Linked DNA regions of Homo sapiens: region 1 is linked to region 2. Evidence: promoter capture Hi-C in human tissues and cell types (Jung and others, 2019). All regions are on one chromosome and are shown on one strand. Each heading gives the region's core, a stretch centred on a gene start or on the middle of the fragment in contact. The rest is flanking DNA. Distances are from core to core; before and after follow the strand shown. Region 1 has its middle 40 kb from the start of TENM4. Region 2 holds the start of TENM4 (teneurin transmembrane protein 4).

What was found. The method cuts DNA at HindIII sites, captures the fragments that hold promoters and counts their contacts. A contact is called where the count stands out against the background at its distance.
Region 1: a fragment that was not itself captured here is called in contact with the fragment with the promoter of TENM4 in region 2 in 1 of the 25 tissues and cell types used here (aorta).

What each region holds. Positions count from the first base shown.
Region 1 is chr11:79,479,500-79,483,211 of GRCh38, reverse strand. No RefSeq gene overlaps it. Among named protein-coding and RNA genes, the nearest start is that of TENM4, 40 kb to the right of the region's middle. The HindIII fragment of the contact is 3,520 bases long and covers 401-3,712 here.
Region 2 is chr11:79,438,727-79,442,279 of GRCh38, reverse strand. It overlaps TENM4 (teneurin transmembrane protein 4), which reads left to right and starts at 1,250. Exons shown (of 34, transcript NM_001098816.3): 1 at 1,250-1,771. RefSeq lists silencers at 1,122-1,291, 1,552-1,661. The HindIII fragment of the contact is 13,466 bases long and covers 1-3,553 here.

The DNA.
Region 1 (3,712 bases), core at 911-3,410, 40 kb before region 2:
TCTAGTATAGCTTGCACAAGCCCATTATTAATAGGCTTCCCATTCTTATTTGTTCAGTAGACGAAGTCTTACAAAAAATTGGGTCCTGTGGGGAAAACAGTGAAAAGTAGATCCTTCATAGTGAAAAAGATACCAAGGATGTCATTATTTACAAATATGATTCAACTAACGTATAGAAAGAGGAACTCATGTACCCAAAGACAGCACCACAGGAAGGCAGACAAAGAACTAGAATCTGGGCCTCCCAGCTCCCTTCTCACTTCCTTTCCAGCATGCCACCCACATACAGACAATGTCTAATTACAAGACTGCTTCAAAATTATAAAATCAGACTATTGAAATCTCATTAGAGACCTCGACAGAGACCCTGTTTTAAACTGGGGTAAGTGTGGGTATTCCTTGTGCTGTCCCTTGGTGATTTGTATATATCCACTTATCTAAATCTGACTCCTAAAACGAAATATGCAAATATCAGATGTCAAATACCAAAAAGATTGAGTCTTTTCCACTTATCCAACCTTCCAGCACCCTTTGTTGCCATTATTTTTTTCCCCTGCAGAAATGTACTATAAGAACAAACAGACAAAACAAACAAAATTAGCTTTTCTAAGGTGGACACAAGGTTAAGTTAAAGAGGCAGCCCCTTTTAACCAGTGATCAGGAGAGCTTCCTTCTTGAAAGTACTCCCTTCTGTCCTCCACCCCCAGGTTGTCCACAAAACAACATTGGTTCTGGACTTCTCAATGGGGAAAAGTCTTTAGCTTTTTCAATTGAAATTTGGAAATAATCCTGAGTCTTTTGGGGACGAATCTGATGAACATACTGAGTGGCCAAGTGGGAGACACTGAATTCTCCTTGAGTTCCTCCAGATTCTGCCCGCTCTGGAGGCTCTTCTGAGACTCAGAAATGAGCACCCTGGAAGCTTGTCCCAAAGGAAAACCCCCAGCGTTTTGAGCAATGGTAAAAGCTTGGGAATTTGATTTTTTGCTTAGGGGAGAATTTCAAAAATAATGTCCACGTTTGCTGAACACTTAATACACCTAGGGGAGTCTGCCAGGCATCTCCTGTAAATGTATAATCCTCATAGCTATCCTGTCATGCAGATATCATTATTGTTATTACTCGTGTTTTGTAGATGGGGAAACTAAAGTTAAGAGAGTTTCAATCATTTGTTCAAGGTCATACAGACAGGAAAAGGGGAAGTCAAGATTTGGAATTGTATCTCATGGGGTCCAAAGTTCATGCTCTTAACCCTACACTGTTCTGCATGGGAAGCTCCTACAAACCCTAACCACCAGAACACACTGACGTAGAAAGAGAAGGAAGAAAACTTCTTGAAACTTTATGATCATGTTTTGGTGTCTCCAGTTCACTCATTCAACAAATAAACTTAAGTACCTACTTTGCATGGAACTCATGATTAATGTGAAGTGTTAAGCAGCAAGCAAAACAAACCCAGTCTCTGCCTTCCTGAAACTGAGAGTCTAGTCAAAGAGATGGACATTAGCACTGGAGCTTTTTAAGGAGAAGAGCAACATGATCACAAATTCTCATTTGGGAAAGAGCTCTCTGGCTACAGTGTGAAGTAGACATGACCCATGGAGCACCAGGTTCAAAGGAGTTTTTTTAAAAAACAAGAATTTATATCTAAGAAAGTCAATTTCTCCCTTCCTCCTCTGGGCTGCCCCACTTTTTGTTCTTCTTGTTTTTACATCAAACCAAGTTGTTTTCCTTTGATTTCCAGGTCTGTTTTCACTTCTTGACTGTGAGCACTTTCAGTTTAGAGTTTGTCTGCTTTTGTATCCCCAGCATCAAGCATATTGCCTGGCACACAGTTATTTCATATGCATACTACCTGACATACAGTTGTTGCCTGGCACATAGTTATTACATATATGTATTGCTGGCTCATAGTTATTACATATGTATATTGCCTGGCACATAGTTGTTACATATACATATTGCCTGGCCCATAGTTATTACATATATGTATTGCCTGGCACATAGTTGTTCCCTGGCACATAATTATTACATATACGTATTGTCTAGCACATAGTTATTACATATAAATATTGCCTGGCACCTAGTCAATACGTACACCACACCTATTGCCTGGCACATAGTCATTACATACACCACACCTACTGCCTGGCACATAGTTATTGCCAGGCCAATGACTATGTTAAACGAGTGACTTCTTACTGCCCATAAAGTTGAATTATATGTGTTGCTATTTAATAGATAAAAAATATATAGTTTATAAAAGGCTTTACCTGGGGTGTGTGTGTGTGTGTGTGTGTGTGTATCTTTAGTTAATCGTCTACCAACAATCCAGAGCACAATCACTTTTAGCCTCCAGGCCTTACTGGACATTCCTTTTGTTTGCTGTATGGTTGCTAATGTCAATCACATAAAAAGGCTTGTTAGCTACCAGTGGTGTAGGAGATGAGTCTCTGTTGATCATGCTAGTTGTCATTCCATGATTGAGCATTTAATTAATAACAGTTGATTTCTCTTTAGTTGATTAAGAAGGATATCATTTAAATTTAGTAAAGTGGAAAATTGTGTTTGTGTTTATTGTTTTACTTTCAAAGCTGATTCTCAGGATTTCTTCTCTTTTTTTTTTTTAAAAAAGCCCTTTAATGTGCCAAAAATCATAAATAAATATAACCTAATCAAAAATCATGGTGAGAATTGAAACGTCAACATAGACACAAGCTTCTCATTTGCTTATTGTTGATCTTAATTAAATACAACATATGTTCACATTTTTAAATTTCATATATATTTTAATCTATTCTTTTCTCAGTTTACAGTTTTAGTTTTTATGTTGGGAACTTCTTATCTTATATTCATCACATTTTAAGGATCTTAGTCCCAGATCTTTGTGATCTCAGTTTTCTTCTACCCATTAGTCTAATTTCCTGTGCCTTCCCCCATTTATTCATTCATCCATCCATCCATCCACCCATCCATTCACTCAGTCAGTCAGTCAATGAACACTTCCAGAGTTCTTCTTCTTTCCCAGGTGCTAAACCTGAACTGAGAAAGGCACAGTCATTTGTAGGGAGCTCGTACTCTGCCAAACAGAGCAGACCAGGCCTGCTCGTGTTTTAGTATCAAAATACAGAACACTGTTTCAATGAGAACATTCACACTGGAAAGCCTCAACACATGCCTGCCTGGGTGATTCAAAGTGCTAATGACATTAGGACGACATTGTACTTTCCCCTTTCTGATGGTATTGCCAAAAACTGCTAGAAAAGTTCTAATTCCAGCCTACTTCCTTGGAATGCTGAGAGGATGAAAACACATAATGAATTTGAGATGTTTTAAAACCTGTAAACTTCTGTTCCAGAAAGAGTAATTTCAGCAGCAACACTTGTGAGACTAAACTTTAGAGTTCATTCAGAGTTAGAGGCTCTTCTACCTCATAGAGTTGGCTGGGATGGAAAATGTCACCCCCACTTTATAGATGCAAAAAAGAGGATGACTGAGGGAGTCTCCCATAATGCACATATATCCATTGCTATAATTGATGATAATAATTTCACGTGTCCCCATTTCCGTGACTTAATCACATGGAGTATTTTAAAGCAGTTCAATGTCTGGTGCATAATAGATGGGCAATGAATGTTCCTTGAAACTGACTTCCACTAGCAGTTTTGAATATCACTCTACAATCCCCACCCTCTCTCCAAGTGATGGGTGT
Region 2 (3,553 bases), core at 1-2,500:
CCACGTTTATAATCTGTGATGCCTTTATAATCAGCATATGGCAACTGGCTAGACAGTCTCCTCACCACACAGAAGAGTTTTCAAAATAGCCTACCCCTCCTTTCACATTTATGTGAAATTAGCATTGTCACATTTCCTCCTTCATTGACTACTTTAGATCAGAGAGACACACTGTAGCAGAAGATCATGAAGGAAGTTGTCTTAAAGAAGGAAACTAACATAAATTAAGCATCTCATATACACCCAGTGCTTTCTTTCCATTGTTCTCTCTTTTAATCCTCACCAAAACTGGTGAAGTCGGTATCATCCATTTTATAGATGAGAAAACTGAAGCCGGGTAAGGGGAAATGGCTCGCACTAAGTCCTTTAGCCAGCAGGCAGCAGGGCTGGAGTGGGAATTCCTCCAGTCTCTTCCCCAAAGCCCTTCCAAGTTGCCACTCAGTCAAACTACCGCTCTCATCACATAAAAATGCCCTTCTCTTGGAAATGTGCTTGCCATCACGATCCAAACATTCGAGGGACAGAAATCTCTTGGACCGCAATCACTGCTATTTTTTAAGTGATTGTTATCACGACTCAGTAGCTGTTACCATGGTTTTGGGGAAGTTGTCCGAGGAAGGAGGGCCTTTCTTTGGGCATCTTGCATGCCTGAAGAAGGAACTCAAGATCTCAGCTCTTAATTACTCTGATTGTGCTGCAGTAGCAACTTGAAAGAGACCGTCCCTAGAAAAGTGTTGGGGTGGGGGGTGTGGAGTAACATCCAGCGAGCAGGCAGAAGGGAGGCCCTGGGCGCCAGAGAGACCCAGGGAAAGGCGAAGAGGAGGGAGAGGGGACGAGACCGTGCTACGGGGAGCCTGGAGAGAAAGCCAAAGGAGGAGGAAAGAACAAAAGGCAAGAGGAGAGGAAGTACAAGAAAGTCCAGAAAGGAAAAGAGAAAGTTTCAGAAAGGGGAAGAGAAAGCAAGCAAGGAGGGTAAAAGAAGAAAGAGACCAGAAAGATACCGAACTGAGAGAGCTCGGAGAACTCGAGAAAGCAAAGGAGGTAAAAGGAGAGAAGATGGAGAAGGCGGCGGAGAGGAAGGGGGAAGGAGACAGAGGAACCGAGACTGGGGTGAGGGAGCGGCCGCGCGTGGCCCCCGGAGAGGCGCCCATCACCTGCGTGGCGCCCCCCCGCGCCGGAGTGCGGCCCTGCTCCCAGCGCCAGTGCGCCGCGCGGCTCGCCGGCCTCGTAGGATTGGCTACCGCCTCCCATTCATGTAACCTGCGTGTGCGTGTGCGTGTGTGTGTGTGTCTCTCTCTCGCTCGCCCTCTCTTTCTGTGTGTAAGAGAGCGAGGGTGGGGGACGGAGGCAGGCAGGCGAGCAGGCAGGGAGGGGAAGAAGAGAAGGGAAGCTATTAAACACACACACACACACACACACTCACACACGCGCGCGCACACACCCGCCCCAACCCCCCAGAAGCCTCGGGATTGCAGCTGTTTCATGTGGGGCAGCAGTGCTGGCAGGGACGCCGGCCGGGAGCGGCCGGGAGCGGGAGCCGGTCGTGCGCGCGCGGCTGGAGGCTCGCTGGGGCTCCGCTCCCCGCGGGAGCTATTGTTGGTCTCGCTGGAGCTGAGCGCAGAGCCCGGACCTGCTCCTTCCTGGGCGCCCCGCTACGGCTCGCGGAGCAGAGGAGCCGCGCCGCCGAGAGAGAGAGGAGCCACCGGCGCGGCGCCTTGCCTCCCTGCCGCCGTCCTCGCCGCTTCCCCGGCGGTAGCAGCCTGCAGCCACGGTAAGGCGGCGTGATCCGCTCTACGGAAAAGCGCCTTGGGGACCGCGGCGACGCCTCGCCAGCTCCATCGCCCTCTGCACTGCTGGCCCGGGCAGGGTTCGGGTAGCTCACGCGGCTGCCGAGGGCTCCGGGAGATGTTTGCTTGCTCCCCTGGCCCAGGAGGAGGGAGGCTAGGGCGCGGGTGGCCGAAGAGGCAAGCTGTTCTGGAGCCTGGAGCCGCCGCAGCCCCCGGAGCCCGCCGCGGACTGGAGCCTGGGAGCAAGGGTTGGGGGAGGGCAGGGAGGTGGGAAGCGGGTGGGAGGGAGGCGGCGCGCCCCAGGTTCGTCTGCCTCTCCCGGATCCCGTTCCCCGCCCCGGCCCGGTCGCCTGCAGCCCCTCTGCAGACTAGCTCGCCCCAGGCCCCCGTCGGGCGCTGGAGGAGCCCGCGAGGCGGCGCCGGGCTTCAGCGGCTGCAGCCTGCCCTGCGGGGCAAGTGCCGGCTGCAGCAGCCCCGCACGGGCGGTGGTTGGAGCTCAGATCCTGGAGATGCGACCCCAGCTCCTCGCCCTCTGCAACCCGCGGGGCGCCCGCCTCTCCTCACCGGGCGCCCGGCCGCGGTATTGATGTTCGTCTAGGAGCCAACTGAGGCTGCAGCCGCCAGATGGACGCTTGGAGGGCTCCCGGGTGTGAGTGTGACTGTATGACTACTCTCACCCCCAGCTTCGGGAAATGTGCTCTGGGTTGAAATGTGATCACCGAGCTCCTCAGTCATTTTAATTGCCATTTTTAAATGCGGTCGTTACATTGGAGGAGCAGACTGGAAGGTAGTGGGGCGGCGTGTGTGTGTGTGTGTGTGTGTGTGTGTGGACACACACACGCAACCGAGGAATACACAACCAACTACTTGGGTGAAGGGCGGGGGGTTCACCTAGTGAGTCCTTCTTGGCGGGGGGGTCGGGCGAGTTAGCTGCCCGCTGCCCGCCCCTTCTCTGCCTGCCCCCGCCTAGGCGAGGTTGGAAAGTACTGGAAATTCAGCTGCGTGGTCCTTAACTTTGGAAATTGGCTCCGCTTTCAGGGCAAAATGTTAAGGCGATTTATGCACCCGCGTCCATGTGGATGAGTGTATTACTGCTCAGTTGGGTGCAGAGCCCTCAACAGTACCGCGCCAAGCCCCCACCCGATCTCTAACTCCCTCCCACCCCCTAACCGTGGAGAGAGGGTTTATAGAAATGCAGTTATCTGTAAACCATCGACGCAGTGAAAGGGGCGCAGGGAGGCAGCCAGAGTTTTGCCTGAACCTGCATACTGGCTTGGTGTTTGTAGCACACGAGATCACCCCGCTGCTTTGTAGAAGGCGGTGGTGGGGCAAGCTCGGGATTCCAATCGCCGGGGTGGGGGGTGGGGGGAAGAGGGTGCCCATGTACTGAGCTCTGAGGCCGAGTAAGGAGAGAGATCTGCTGAGCGGCATCGCGGGCAATTACATAAGCTGCCTCGGTGATTACCCGGAACTGTGATGCGAGCTCCCGGTTCTCGAAAGACAAGCCTGAAAGTTTGCCTGCTTGGGGAGTGTAAGTACCGGGGCGCCCCCACCCCGGCCTGGGTAGCTAGGATACGCCTCGCACCACGGCGCCCACTTGTGCGATGGGCGTCGGGTGCTGATGCTGCTGTCCCCAAAGAACCGGTTACCGAGGCAGGGACTAAGTGGGGGCATCCGGAATTGATCGCAGAGGAGGAGTCAGTCAGAACTGAGGTTTCATTGGGTCTTCAGAGCTCCAAGTCTTCCCTCGGAGGTGTTGGAAGGCC